3 separate regions of the Homo sapiens genome follow, and regions 2 and 3 are each linked to region 1. Evidence: promoter capture Hi-C in human tissues and cell types (Jung and others, 2019). All regions are on one chromosome and are shown on one strand. The core of a region is centred on a gene start or on the middle of the fragment in contact, and the rest is flanking DNA. Distances in the headings are between cores, read along the strand shown. Region 1 holds the start of SLC25A4 (solute carrier family 25 member 4). Region 2 has its middle 44 kb from the start of TLR3. Region 3 overlaps LOC105377582 (a long non-coding RNA gene).

Region 1 (4,977 bases), core at 888-3,387:
ACTTATGCACATCACCTCCTCATTCAGAAGCCTCAATTATCCCAGAGACTAGAAAAAACAAGATCAATATATATCAGGTCCTTTGTGAGTTATAGATCCCATAGGATCCTCTTTCCACACCACCCTCCTTCTCCCCGATGCCCCTCTCTCACCCTTGGCAGTATCATAGACTCCGAAGTAGGCAGCTCTATAGATAATGATGCCTTGGACAGAGACGTTGAAACCCTGGTAGAGCCCCCTCAGGCCATCAGACTTGAAGATCTTGATGATACAGTCGCCCAGACCATGGAACTCACGCTGGGCGGCGCCCTTGCCCACATCAGCAGCCAACCTGGTCCTAGCAAAGTCCAGCGGGTAGACAAAGCAAAGGGAGGTGGCCCCAGCGGCCCCACCGGACGCCAGGTTACCAGCAAAGTAGCGCCAGAACTGCTTATGCCGATCCACACCCCCTAAGAAGAGCTGCTTGTACTTGTCCTTGAAGGCGAAGTTGAGAGCTTGGGTGGGGAAGTAACGGATCACGTTGGCCAGGTTACCCCTCCAGAAGGAGAGGAAGCCCTGCTCCTTAGGGATTCTCACCACACAATCAATGATCCCTTTGTACTGCTTCTCAGCACTGATCTGTTTGCTGGCATGCTGGACCTGGTGGAGGGGAGGGTGGGTGACAGAGGACAGGCAGGGTAGAGAGAAGGGAAGAGGACAGGAGAAAAAAAAAGGTTTGCACTTCCTAGATTTTTTTTTTGAAGAAAAAAAGGATGAGGAAATCAAATGGATACTGAGGACGTGTAAATGGATACTGTTATCCATGTTAGTTACTGGATAACAAGCCAAAATAATCCAATGTTGCTTCAATTATTAGGGTATTTGAGGGAAAAGGTATTGCCCCAAATAAACTGAAAAGGTGATTGAATTATATAAAGCTATAGCCATTTATTTATTTCACTTTCCCTAGGTTTGAGAACTGTATGAGGGGCTTACTGGGGGACAGAAATGAGTAACACTCCCTGCTTCAAAGGGCTTTGGATTTAATAGACATGATGGCCAAAAAATGACAATTTCTCAGTGTCACTCTGATCACCCTGGAGATGAGGATCTCTACTAGATGCTCTAATAGAGGAAGGAGAATAAATCCACTAAACATTAGGCCTCCAAAGTTTTCAAGCAGATAATCCAAGTAATCAATTATTAAGGGTTTGCTGCCGTTGTGAGCAATTTGTGGGGGTTTTGTTGTTAGTAATTCTGACTCCCAAATTGGGCTCTTCCTCATTGAGGGGCCCTGACCTTTTGGGCAGGTGGAGGAAAACACGAGAGGATGATAAACCATTCAGCGACCAGGTAGGGGAGGAAAAGATTTGGAGACAGGATGATCTGAGTTTATTCCGAAAATTGTTTCTTAATATTTCAAAACCTCAGCTTCATCTGTAAAATGGAGAAGAATAACTCTCTCACAGAGGTTACATAAAGATGAAGGCGTCAGCCTACATACAGCATTGTGCATGAGATACGATAAGGGAATTCTTGGGTGATGATTATTTTGATGTTTTTATTGTAAAGGTGCGTGCGCATAAGACGGTGCCAAAAATACTGGCAATCACTAGGTGCCTCCGGGCCTGAGTGCACGCCCGTGCTGTCACGGGCGCAGGATCTGGCACACGTAAACCGGCTCCGGGTGGGTTTCCATATATAGACACCCGAACGCCGGGCGCCACCCGACACCAGGAATCTGCGACTGACGCTGGACCTGTCTCTACGCAGAGGGCACCTTCTTCCCCCGCGGGCGGGCGGGCGGGCGGGCGGGCGCCCGGGCCTGTGGCCTGGCGCAGATTTTCCGCGGCGCCCCGCGCCCTGCAGCTCGCGCCGCATCGCGCGCCCCGCCCGGCCCGCCGCGCCCGCGCCCGCCTCTTGCACCGCGCGGTCCTCACCTGCAGCAGCAGTTTGACCCTCTCGATGGGGGCGACCGCGGTCTTGGAGACGGCAGCGGCGACGCCCCCGGCCAGGAAGTCCTTTAGGAAGCTCCAAGCGTGATCACCCATGGTGACAGCTCGACGCTCTCAGCCCGCAGGCAGCCCGTTCGTGCTCTCGCCCACGCCCGGCCTGGCACCGCCGCGCAGTCCCCGACCCTGCGCGACGCTAGGGGGCCGCCGCCTGGCCCGCAGCTCCCCCTTATATCCCCGCCGGGCTCTCGCGAGAGGAGGCGGGTCGCGGCCGGCGCTCGCGCCGCGCATTGGCTGGGCAGGTGCGGGGCGCCCCCTCCTCCCAGCTGCAGAGGGCATCGGGGGCGAAGGCGCTTCCGGGAGCGAGGCTGGGCCGGGGGCTGTCCCTGCAACTTGGGACGTTTAAAGGGCACATTCATGTTATCTGTCCCGCCGAGCCCAGGGAACACCGTGTCACCGCGGCATGTGGGCCGCGTATTTATAGCACAGGCAGCCTTAGGCCGGGGCGAAGCCGGGGCAGACACCGGGCCGCTGCCGCCGGTGGAGAGTTCTTGACCCTCCGGCCTGCACGGGCCGCGCTCAGGCCCAGGGATTTCGAGCTGTTTCCTCCTTCTTGCATCTAAAGGCGCCCCCCACCAGAGCTCACTGCCTGGATATGGGCCTCTTTAGAGCCGTGCGCTCCCGAGAATAAATGGCAGTCCTCTCAAATAGATACTAAGGTCACCTGATGCTGTGATTGCCTCATAGAATCTGACAACCTGCTGCCTCTCATTTCTTTTCATTCAATCGTTCGTTCAGTCATTCATTCTGCTATTACATATTGATGTGTCTGGCACTCAGTGCCCACAGGAAAGACCTGGTGCAGGGGGCCACTAGGTGAATTCATACTTGTTTCTGCAAAACTCTGTGACTCTAAAACACAGGACACTTCTTTTGTAAGCCCCTAAAGGGTTCAATGTACCACTCTGCTCTCAGCGGAATTTCAGCACATATTAGGGCAGAATGTTCTGTCTGTCAGCCGGTGCCTTCTTGAGGGTCAGTGCTGTCAGCCTTCCGGAGATCCAGTCCTTGGCTGTATTTGCCTCTTTTTAATGACAGCTGGGGTTGAGGAAATGCTATTTAATCCCAGGAAATTAATTGCAATTAATTTCTTAAAATATATAAATCTGAGCTTTAATTTTCCTTAGCTTGTTTTTTAGGCAGTTCATGTAACCATACAGGTTTTCAAATACAACTGTTCCTTCCCCTAGAATGACTGCAATTCGTTTTTAACTTTAAACTCTTCACTCAATTATCTTCCCATGTTTGCTAATTTTCATTTGTACCTTTAACAAAGTTTATTCATTGTTTTATAAACTTTTTTTTTTTAATATTTGCTGACATCATGTTAGAGGTTTACGGAGCTGCAGCTGCGTGTCACCCTGGGCGTGGAGACTTTGGTATAGCAGAAGTCACTAAGGTTCCAGGGCCACAGAGGGCATGCGTTTATCTAAGAGTGGGGCAGGCTAGAGTTCCGAAATCCAGGTAAGCAGAATGAAAGCTAGAAACTAGTGGAAAGCTGCCAGAGGTCAGAGCAGACAGAAGTCAAGAACTCGGAAGAGACAAACAGATAAACCATGTATGTGTTCATTCAACAGACTCTTGCTGAGCATGTACTGTGTACCAAGAACTAGGTGTAGCCCTGTGGATTGAATATAAGTAGACGTGGCCCATCTCCAAAGACCTTACAGTTCAGTGTATTCGTCACTTGCTCCACTTTATCAAAACTTCACTTACTGATTTCCATGGATCAGCATAATCCACACAGTAAACCTTTTTAATTATAATAGTGTACTGTATCCCATCCTGTAATATAGAGCACTTGCTTTTATACCTCCATTTTCCTTTTAATTGTGCATTAGAATTGTGTCTTATTTTTATGATGAAAAATAGGCCGGGTGTGGTGGCTCATACCTTTGGGAGGCTGAGGCTGGCAGATTACCTAGGTCAGGAGTTCGAGACCAGCCTGGCCAACATGGCAAAACCCCATCTCTACTAAAAATACAAAAATTAGCCTGGCGTGATGGCTCATGCCTGGAATCCCAGCAGCTCAGGAGGCTCAGGCACGAGACCCCCGAGAGGCAGAGGTCATGGTGATCTGAGATCACTCCACTGCACTTCAGCCTGGGCAACAGAGAAAGACTCTGACTCAAAAAAAAAAAAAGAAAGAAAGAAAGAAAGAAAGGAAGGAAGGAAGGAAGGAAGGAAGGAAGGAAGGAAAACTAATACTGCTACATTGAAACTTACACAAACTTCATTTTCTCCTCTAAGTTTTTTCTTCTCATATATTTCCCAAATGGAATGGATAGATTTAAGATTTTTAAAGTTTTGTAGCTTTTGCTACATATTGACAAATTGCTCTTCAGAAATACCAACCCACCAGTTATATAGATGGGCTTTCTCTCACACTCTTCTCCAACACTGGCTTTAAAAAAATAGAGAGTTGGTTATTTGTGAGTTATTTATGAGTTTTAGTTTGTATTTACTTAATTACTATGAAGCTGTATATATTCCATATGATTCAATTTAATTTGACAGTTTGACAAGGTTTCCCTTTTGTATAAACTTTTAATCTTCCTTGACTACTGCTGGAGTGAAAGCAGAGTATTTATATTAACAACAATTCTTTATATATTTGGGACAATAAATATGTGTTGAATGTTTTTCATTTTGTTGTTTTCCTTTTGATATTTATTATATCATTCTATTAGTGTTATGAACAGATCTATGGTATGATGATGATCTATTTCATGTTCTGATGTAAATGTATCTCTTTTATAGATATAGCAGTCTATTTACTCTAGTACATATATCAGTTTTTTTCTTCTACTTTGAGTAGCTATTTTTAAAATGTCTAACACTACGTTTTATATTGTATGGAGGTATGGGTCTAATTTCACTTTTCTCCATATCATGCTTGGGTATCCCAATACTAATTCTTAAGTAGATATTTTCTTCTCTCCATTATTTGTCTTATATTACTAAGTCTAGTTTGTCATATATTAAG
Region 2 (4,977 bases), core at 1,537-4,036, 880 kb before region 1:
GTGAGGTGAAACTGCTTTTGGAAAGATGATGACAGTGAGAGAAATCTGACATAGGTGACTCCATCTTGCTTCCGACCTCCAAGCTGTCCTTGGTCATTCCTGGATGTAAGCCAAGCTAACCTTGGGAAAAATTTAGTTTATAGTTTAACCTTAAGACAAGGATGATAACAGCCCTTCCCAGAACTGAACCACCTTTCTAGAACCAATGAAAGACCTCATGGTTAGGATTATGGGAGGGGCCTGAACCTGCTAAGAGACAGGTGTTGTTCCTACAATCCCTAACTACTCAGGGGTCACGTGGCCAGGGGTCACAAGATTTGAGACCTTCTCAATTGCTCCTATGGATGACATCACTACTGTAGAACCTAAGATGGGTTTTCTGAGATGTGTTTCAGACACACCCCACCTGGACTCCTGACTCCTGACTCACCTGATCCTGTGGCTCCACCCAGCAGCTGACTCAGAGCACGGGGATTGTTTCTGCACCCTGTGATTTCATCCCCAACCAATCGGCAGCGCCCATTCCCTAACTCCCCGCCCACCAAATTGTCATAAAGACTCTAACCTCTGAGCCTTCAGAGAGACCAATTTGAATGATAGCTCCAGTTCTCCCATGTGGTCCGGCTTCGTGTCAGTTAAACTCTTTCTGTACTGCAATGCTGTGGTCTCAGTGGATTGATTTTGTCTGTGCAGCCAGCAAGAAGAAACTGTCTGGCAATCACAGAGGTGCCGGGTTATTTTAGACAACCAGCTCTCCCATGAACTGATACAGCAAGAACTCACTCATTACCATGAGGATGGCACCAAGCCATTCATGAGGGATACATCCCATGACCCAAACACCTCTCACCAGGCCCCACCTGCAACATTGGGGATTACATCAGCATGAGATTTGGAGGGGACACACATCCAAACCATATCATTTGAGGTCTCCTTGGCTCAGAAGGGATCCATTCAGTCGGTTGAGGGCTTAGAGTTTTAGTTTTTGTTTACACGAGGCATGAGCGGAACTTATAAATGAATGGGGCAGAGGAGGACATTAAATAAGTAAAAATAAACCACCATTATGTGTATTTTGTTTTGTTGTAACTGCTGTGGCACTGTAAAGGAAATGAACAGGGCCTCTGACGTAATGGTATTTAGTGGGATGAGAGGTGCAGTAGAAATTATGGACTGGCTTTTCAGCTCCTGTTCCAACCCATTTATGGAATCACTTTCTGAACTACAGCTAGAATGCCTGTTTGAACTGCAGAGGCAGAGAAGAAAGAGAAGAAAGAAAGGACAAGAGAGATGAAAGGGAAGGAAGGAAGGGAGGGAGGGAGGGAAGGAAAGAAAGATGGATGAAAATTACACTTCCCAGCCTCTTGTAGCTAAGGTCTGACTGCCCCCCATCCCCTGCTTTGTGAGTCTTAGGTGAAGAAAATGAACAGCATAGCTCTCTGCAGTGGCTGTATCATAGCCAATGAGGTTTATCCAAGGCATGATTATTGCTAATTGAAAATGAGCAGCGCAAGGCAGTGGACCTTGTGAGGAGTTGAGATATTTTCACACACCTGGTGACAGAAGCACTAGATTCTTCTAGACACCTCCGCCAAAGCACTTTGCCTGTTCTCTGGGCTTGTAGGGGCTGAGAGGAAGGTGGTGATAGTGAGCTTTCCACAAAGTGGTGTCACTTTGCCCAGCAGCTATTCCTCCTGCTTGCAAAGCTTCCCAGCTCCCTTCCCCATGGTAACCGCCTTCGCTTTGCATCCATCACAGGATCTTGCACCTGAGTATTTTCCAGGTCTTCCCCCAAGGACAAACAGCGCTTTTGCTTCTTCCCCTCCCCTGAAGCAGTATCTGTGTCAGGGACAGTAGCTGGATTGTCCTTCCCTGTCCAGATCTTCCTCAGGAGCACACAGTGGAGATGGTGGAAAGAGCTAACACTAGGTGAATGCAGGTTCTCCTTGTGTCTCAGGCCCACCGGGGCTTTCTCAACCATCTAGCACACAAGCTCACACTCAGACTTTAAGAATTTGCTACATTCTGGCTGGGTTTTTTGTTTTGTTTTTGTTTGTTTTGTTTCGTTTTGCTTTTTTTGTTTTTGAGACGGACTCTCACTCTGTCGCCCCCCGGACTGAAGTGCAGCGGCGTGATCTCGGCTCATGCAACCTCCGCCTCCCGGGTTCAAGCGATTCTCCTGCCTCAGCCTCCCGAGTAGCTGGGATTACAGGCGCCTGTCACTATGCCTAGCTAATTTTTGTATTTTTAGTAGAGATGGGGTTTCACCATGTTGGCCAGGCTGGTCTCGAACTCCTGACCTTGTGATTCGCCTGCCTCGGCCTCCCAAAGTGCTGGGATTACAGGCGTTAGCCACCGCACCCGGCCCATCCTGGCTGTTTTCTTCCAACCTGCTTTTACGGCTGCTCCATCCACCCTCCTCTCACACTCTGCCAAGGGTGAAACCATCTGTGCGGCCCGATTCTCCCCGAGGGACCTGTCACTCCTCAGAACTGACTTCACTTGCTTGCCTTGCAACCTCAGCTTTCTGAAGTGCTCAAGAAAAGTTGGCACTGTGAAGATCACATGGCTTTTCCTCCTTGCTAAGGTGGGAGTGACATCTTTGTAAAGCCATCTACATATGAAGTGAAAACAGGATTCCCTGTTTCTGTTTCAAGATCCCACATGGGTGGTCTGAAGTTTAGTTCCCTCCCAGCAAGGGATCAACAGCATCCATGCTGCCAAAAGCTTCAGAAATGAACTCTGTGTTAACTCCGCGCATCTTTGAAGGGCCTACTATTTGCACATCACTCTACGAAGAGCTGAGATACTGAGATGAATGAGGCACAATCCTTGTCTTACCCTCGCTCACAATCCTGGGGGAGGCAAGGCACAGAAACGAGCGTCATAGAGTCATGAGTGCCGCCCCGAGAGTGGGAGAAACACGGTGGGAACGTGCATCTGAATAAGTAGCAGGCAGGGGCATGAGGAGGCAGAGTTATTTGAGTTGCTTCTTGAATTTTGTGTAAGTTTTCTATACTGAGACAGTAAAGAGGCATTCACAGAAAAGTGTTCCTTCTATTTCTCATTCTCTGATACACAGTTCCATTTCCTGGAAGAGTTTGCCTGGATCAGAACTCTCTAGATCCCATAGGCTGACCTGGTCTTAGCCACAGTGAACTCTGTGTCTGCGTCCTGCAGGTGAACCCAGCATTTCGCAAGGTCAGCGGGTTCTGCGGTGGCAGTATTAATAATAGAAACTTCGCTGCATTTGAATAAAATCAGTATTTTTTTCTTTAAAAAGCTTGATGCCAATATCTAATCTGCTTTCTTTCATATTTGTCCTCTCAATATTTATTTTTATTTTATTTTTTTTTTTTATTTTTTGTTTGTTTTGTTTTTTGGAGACAGGGTCTCACTCGGCCCTAGGCTGCAGCTGGAGTGCAGTGGCGTGATCTCGGCTCACTGCGACCTCTGCCTCCTGGGTTCAAGCAATTCTCCTGCCTCAGCCTCCCGAGTCGCTGAGATTACAGGTGCCTGCCACCATGATTAATTTTTGTATTTTTACTAGAGATAGGGTTTCACCATGTTGGCCAGGCTGCTCTCAAACTCCTGACCTCAAGTGATCTACCTGCGTCGGCCTCCCAAAGTGCTGGGATTACAGGCATGAGCCACCACGCCCCACCTGTCCTCTCAATATTTGTATTAACCTCTATATTTGTTGTCCCTGGAGGGGTGGATGTCTGGATATTAGTTTATTTGTTGGAACCACTGGGGTGTATTTCAGCACTGGTCTGGAAAGAATGGAGAGGCTTCACCGCTGCCAAAGCTCTCCTGGTTCGGCCTCACCTGGACGGTCGACTACATCGGTGCCGAGACAGGAACGGTGCAGCCCAAACAAGGACTCACTACAGTCAGACGCCCACGGGAACAGGGCTCATCAGCCAAAATCTAGTCGTTTTGTGAAAGGTGAGCCTGCGGCACGTTGAATGTAGAGAAGAGTTTTAGCAGAAGGTGTCAAGTCCCAGGCGTTGGAGTCTGGGGATCAGTCTGTGAACAAACCCAGGCTCAGAATCTGGTGAGAGGGGCAGAACAGGAGCAGGAGCCAGGACGGGAGCTGGGTGCCCAGCTGGGCCAGGGTGGGCAGAGTCCAGCCCCGCTGTCCCCTTCACCACCACTGGAGCATCGTTTCAGAAAGCCGTGCACGTCATCCACACAAACACACACAGACCACAGCTTTAAAAGCGGAGCCATACTGAACAAAAAGAGCACAGTCAGTGTGCACGGCAGTCCACACGCATGGTGCAGTGGGATTTACTTTAATGTATTAAACGTGGTAACAATACACACTGGATGGCAACTGTCGGAATAGATATAAAACATGTATGTTACAGGCACAAACCTTGTGATTTTAAGAACTAGAGAAAGATTTTTCAGCAATTGAGAAGTTTCCCTTTTTGTGACCTACTAACTAATGAAACAGGTTGACAAAGAGAGTATCGGACTATAAAAAAGGAGGAAAGACGGATCTTGTAGGAAATTCTGCAGTTTGGTCCCACGTAGGCTGACACACCAATGTTCTCCTGCCTTGATATTTAAGGGTCCCCCTGGGCCGGGGTCAGTGTGTGAGCCCTGCCCTGTACAATTCAATTCTGTTTGCAAACTAAACTGCTGGCCCGTTTGTGGTTGCCTTGGCACTCCTACTTAAGTCTTTTGCTGTTAATATTTTGAAATTTTGAATAAGTATGAAGGTAAAATAGTTGTCAACATTTGCCGGATATGATCTGTTTATATTATTTTATTTATTTTATTTGTTTTGAGACTGAGTCTCGCTCTGTTGCCCAGGCTGGAGTGCAGTGGCCTGATCTTGGCTCACTGCTCCCTCCGCCTTGTGGGTTCAAGTGATTCTCATGCCTCAGCCTCCTGAGTAGCTGGGATTACAGGCTCCCACCATCATGCTCCACTAACTTTTTTTTTTGCTGTATTTTTAGTAGAGAC
Region 3 (4,977 bases), core at 1,273-3,772, 860 kb after region 1:
AAACAAGTGCCTGGTTTAGAATGCAATGCGTGTAAAAATAATGCAGTGCTGTCCGTGTCCCCAAACCATCCTCAGGTAACCGTGGTTAGCAGTGTCCTTCCAAATATGCTCCCTGCATAGAGGAACCTTGCACACATAGGTGAGCTTTTTCTCATTATTACTTGGAATTACAGCATGCATCTTATTCTATAATATTTATTTTTTAACCACTCAGGTCAGATCAATCCGAGATGTGTTTGAGAGAGAAAGAGGGCACTATTAATAATTATGCCAGTAGAGCAGGTGATGTTTGTTCACCCTAGTTAGAGAGGAGAGGTGTGGCTTAGGAAAACTCATGGCAGAGCAGACAGTGAGGCCCAGTTTGTATCCTGTATTGACATGCCAGTCTGTGCAACAAAGCGGCTGGGTTGGGCCGCTTCCTGCACTGTTGCCCTCTGAGGTGTGACTGGCCTCCTCTGGCCTTTTGGGGTGATGCACTGCAGACCACGGTGGAGTCTGAGGACCCGGAAAGTGTTTTCTGGTTTTGATGACTGATTCACACTAAGGCTTGTTTGAAGCCGTCTGAGATCTCTGTGTGCCAAGGCATCTCAGTATGGCTGTGTGCCCTTCATGTGGCTCGGGGAAACTGTCAGGACTCCAGGGTGCGACATGCAGGCCCCTGCACCCTACAGCCCCGCCTTGGGTTTAACTGTCATCCACTTGCACTGTTTTGGGTGTGGTGCTGAGCTGGAATTCTCTGGGACCAGAAACTTCCCCTTCCTCTGCCCAGAAAAGTGGACAATCAAGGTTCCCAGGCTCACTGATCTGGGTATTTCTAAAGCCTCTCTCTTCCTGCTTGAGAGCTGTTTCTGTCCTCAGAGAAGGGATAAACTGAAATCCCAGATTTTGTCATCCTTGATCTCCCTCTCTTTCCCTTCCTCCTGCAACCTCTCAGTTCCAGAAAATGCAGGCTGTCCATTTCCTCCAAGTCAGAACCTCCTGCTAAGGATGCCACTGAAGGACTGGAGGGATTTTTCTAAACTGATCCGGGCCTATGATGTGGGTCATCTAATTTGGTTTTTGACCTACTAAGAAAACCAGAAAACCCTCTCAATAGCAATCTGCTTTCCAGCTGATTATCTTACTACAGACATAAACAGAAATTCAACGTGATGGTCAGCGTTGAGCAGAGATGCCACGGTGTTGGTGGGTACTGCTTTTCCCCTGAAGCGCTCCACTCCAGTCTGTCAAAGGGCAGCAAGCCTCCAGTAGTTACAGAAATGGTAACATTGCCAAGATCTGCTTCATCCTTTGGCTGTTGAACGGGTGGCTTATGGCCCCTGAGCTCACGACAAGGAAAGAGAGAAAGAAAAGTGAAAAAGAGGGCCCCCACCACCTACCTACCTGCTGCTGTTCCAGCTCATCAAAAACAAAAGTCTAAAACAGTGGCTGGAAAGTACCTTGCATGATCCCTTCACAGAAACAATAGAGAGGAGCAGCTGCACAGGGACCACGGGACACCAGGCAGACATTCTCCCATTGCTTCTCCTGCCTTTAGCATCCTTTTATCTTGCTTCTCCCATAATCCAAGCATCAGATCCCATTTCCCTCTGAATTCTCCTACTTCTCCCAGCACTTTATAAAACCGAGTCCTGTCCCCAGAGCCCCAGGTCAGTGCTCCCGGCACACCCAGCAGGAAACAGCAGGGTGGGGGCCAGGCAGTGGGTGGAAGGGGCACAGGAGTGGGAGAAGGCAGGCCTGGGGCTGAATCTCGGTGCAAATGCGTGAACTGCAACAATTTATTTATTCCGAGTCTCAGTTTCCTTATTTGTAAAATAAGAATATTATCATCTACTTAATGGGCTGTGGGAGTTAAATATGCTCAGGAGTGTGTAACTGATTCTCTGTGAAGAAACCTGTCCTTGTGTGAAGAAGCCAACCATGCTTTTGTGAACAAATGTGCACCTGAAAGAGCCAATCCTTCAAGATAGATCCTGAGCTGCTAACTGGGCCTACGTTTATAACAGAGCCAAGCGGCCCTTTGCTGGCTAGAGGTCACAGATGTACTCTGAGTTCTGGGGAAACCTACACCTATGTTTAACTGTGGACTTTCAGAGCTTGCCTGAACCAACCAATCAGAGCTCCCCCACCTTGGCCAATCAGGGCCTAGCTGTGTCAACCAATCAAAACTCAGCTGCATTGATCAATCAGAACTAAGCAAGTTTGAATCATTTATTTGCATAAACAGACCTGATTTAGAACCTACAAAAGCCAAACCCTCTCTTTGTTCTCTGAAATGCACACCTTCCTTATACAGGAAGACAGTGTCTCCCCAGTTTGCAAACTGTTCACTGTAAGAAAGTGTCTTTCCTCCAAATTCCTTTTCAGAAAACTTTTGTTCAAACTTCAAACTATGTAGCTGCCCACAAGTGCCACAGCTGAGCTCTGGGGACATAGCTATGGCCTTTATTGCTGATTTTTTTTTTCCAGGGCACTGCCCGCACAATTTCAAAAACAGAATTTAATCCATGGGAACAGTTTTTATATCTAATTAAATGTGTTAGAGTTAATTGATGCGAGAAACAACAAATATGTTCAACTGCAAAGAGCTCGGAACCACGAGTTCAAAAGCCAGCTAAAAGCCCTACCCAATCTTATGACCTTGAGCAAGTCATCCAACTTCCTGAATGTTAGTTTCTTTATCTGCAAACACAGGGTCAGAACCAGAGAGTCTCTGAGCACCCCTCAGCTATACATGCCTTGATTTCTAATAACATCTAAGAATGCAGCTGGCTGTTTTTCCTTTTCTAATATTCTCTGGTCATTACTTGGATCACTGACTTTTGAGTCCTTTACTGAATATGAGACTGTAATTCCTGGTCCTCAGTTCCCCAGGTCCCCTAGTCCCTTCCATAGACACAACCCTCCAACTTCCCTTTTCAGTTCATACCTATAAGGAGGGTACGCTAATGAGAGCTGGGCAGACTCAGCTGAAAGATGAGCCCAGAGGCTCCCCATTACTTCAATCCCCTTGCTCTTTTTCTTCTCCTGAAAAGAAGCCATTCATACGCTCCCTGCCTTATACTACAATCATGCCATTTGAGAACGGTTCCAAACAGAGGCTCCTTGGCTCTTCTGACAAATCCATTCAAGACACTCTTTTAAACAGTAACCAGATTCTTGATTCATTAAAGACCCATATAGAAATGTTCCCACTAGTGTCTCCCTGTCACCGTGCCCCTGTCTGTCTTAGAAAGGGCCTCATGTGGCACTGTCTCCAACAGAGCATGCACTGGCTGGATAACTCCAACCCCATCTCCAAAGCTAAGAGGAGCTGAGATCATCAGCCAAGCAGGGTTCCTGAAGCTTCCTGTATGTAACATGAGAGTTGCAACAACAAAAATAATTTTAACAACTGCACTGAAGTGTTTTGCGGGCAGTTAGAAAAAAATGAATAATATAAATCTTGCCATTCAAAGTGAGGTCTAAGAACCCGTGGCATTGGCCATCATCCGAGAGTCTTTGAGGAACACAGAATCTTAGGCCTACTCCAGAATTACTGAATCAAAATCTGCATTTTATCAGAATCTGTAGGAGATTCCAGTGTACATTAACATTTGAAAAGCAGTGATCTAAAATACTGTAAAAGAAACTAGAGGAACTCTGTGTTGAAAAGTCAAGAACTTATGTTGCCAGCTCTCAAGTAAAACAATCTCCAAGAAAGGTATCGTTACATGTGAATTTAGATTCATTTTTTAAAAAGGTTTATTTTATTTTATTTTTCTAGAGACAAGGTCTCACTATGTTGCCCAGGCTGGAGTGTGGTGGCTATTTACAGGTTGGATCTCACTACTTATCAGCACAGAATTCTTATCTGTTCTATTTTAACCTGGGCAGGTTCAACCCTCCTTAGGCTACCTGGTGGTTCCCCACTCCCAGAAGGTCACCATATTGATGCTGAACTTAGTGCAGACACCCAGTGGACATAGCACACTACAGCCCAGAACTCTTGGGCTCAAGCCAACCTTCCTCCCTTAGCCTCCTGAGTAGTTGGGAATACAGGCATGTGCCACCACACCTGGCATACATTCATATACTGTACGATAGAGACAAGTATACAAAGATCCTCTTCTCTTCCTCTTGCCTTTTAATGGTAATGGGAAGAGCTGTAGATATAAAAAAGCTTAGTGTAGGCAAAGAGACGCTAGAAGGTTTCCTTAGGTGGAAAAGAAAAAAATCATAAAATTGGAAAGGAAGAAAGGAAAAAGATGAAAAATGTTGGCAGAGCAGCTTCTGGGATGAATGAAATTTAATAAACCTTTGCTGAGATGGGTTATGACTTTGCTCTCTGCTTTTGGAGTTGATTTTATTTTATTTTTTTTAGATATAATGGCACATGGAAGTGTGTCATAAAGTGGGAGAAAAAGTGCAAGAATTCCTCAAGACCCATATGTAAGGTTTTCTATAATTCACTTTGTATGCTACAATTGTTTGCCCTGCATAGTGCCAGGAAGATATAAAAATGTGAAATGAACAAATATTGTTTAAGAGTTTAAAGATACTTTGGATGTCATGACTCCAATAATATTACCTTACAGATCAACACCTGTGTTAGTCCATTCTCATGCTGCTATGAAGAAATACCTGAGACTGGGTAATTTATAAATAAAAGAGGTTTAATTGACTCACAGTTTCACATGGGTGGGGAGGCCTCAGGAAACTTATAACCATGGTGGAAGGCACTCTTCACAGGCAGCAAGAGAGAGAATGAGTTTGGAGTGAAGGGGGAAGCCTCTTATAAAACCATCAGATCTTGTGAGAACTCACTCATGGTGAGAACAGCATGGGGGAAAATGCCCTCATGATTCAATTATCTCCACCTGGTGCTGCCCTTGACACATGGGTATTATTACAATTCAAGGTGATATTTGGGTGGGGACACAGAGCCAAACCACATCATTCTGCCCCTGGCCCCTCCCAAATCTCATGCCCTCACAT

What was found. Contacts are between HindIII fragments. The study calls those that stand out against the background at their distance.
Region 2: a contact is called between a fragment that was not itself captured here and the fragment with the promoter of SLC25A4 in region 1, in 1 of the 25 tissues and cell types used here (dorsolateral prefrontal cortex).
Region 3: a fragment that was not itself captured here is called in contact with the fragment with the promoter of SLC25A4 in region 1 in 2 of the 25 tissues and cell types used here (IMR-90 fibroblasts and lymphoblastoid cells).

The regions. Positions count from the first base shown.
Region 1 is chr4:185,140,426-185,145,402 of GRCh38, reverse strand. SLC25A4 (solute carrier family 25 member 4) reads right to left here and starts at 2,137. Exons shown (of 4, transcript NM_001151.4): 1 at 1,920-2,137; 2 at 153-639. The coding sequence starts at 2,030. RefSeq lists a silencer at 2,066-2,365. The HindIII fragment of the contact is 7,904 bases long and covers 1-4,977 here.
Region 2 is chr4:186,023,043-186,028,019 of GRCh38, reverse strand. It overlaps the pseudogene RNU4-64P. Among named protein-coding and RNA genes, the nearest start is that of TLR3, 44 kb to the left of the region's middle. RefSeq lists an enhancer at 1-910. The HindIII fragment of the contact is 3,937 bases long and covers 818-4,754 here.
Region 3 is chr4:184,278,021-184,282,997 of GRCh38, reverse strand. LOC105377582 (a long non-coding RNA gene) reads left to right here. Exons shown (of 6, transcript XR_939552.3): 2 at 4,364-4,633. It also overlaps the pseudogene RN7SL28P. Among named protein-coding and RNA genes, the nearest start is that of MYL12BP2, 34 kb to the left of the region's middle. RefSeq lists enhancers at 123-172, 1,123-1,272, 1,293-1,362, 1,403-1,532. The HindIII fragment of the contact is 5,968 bases long and covers 1-4,977 here.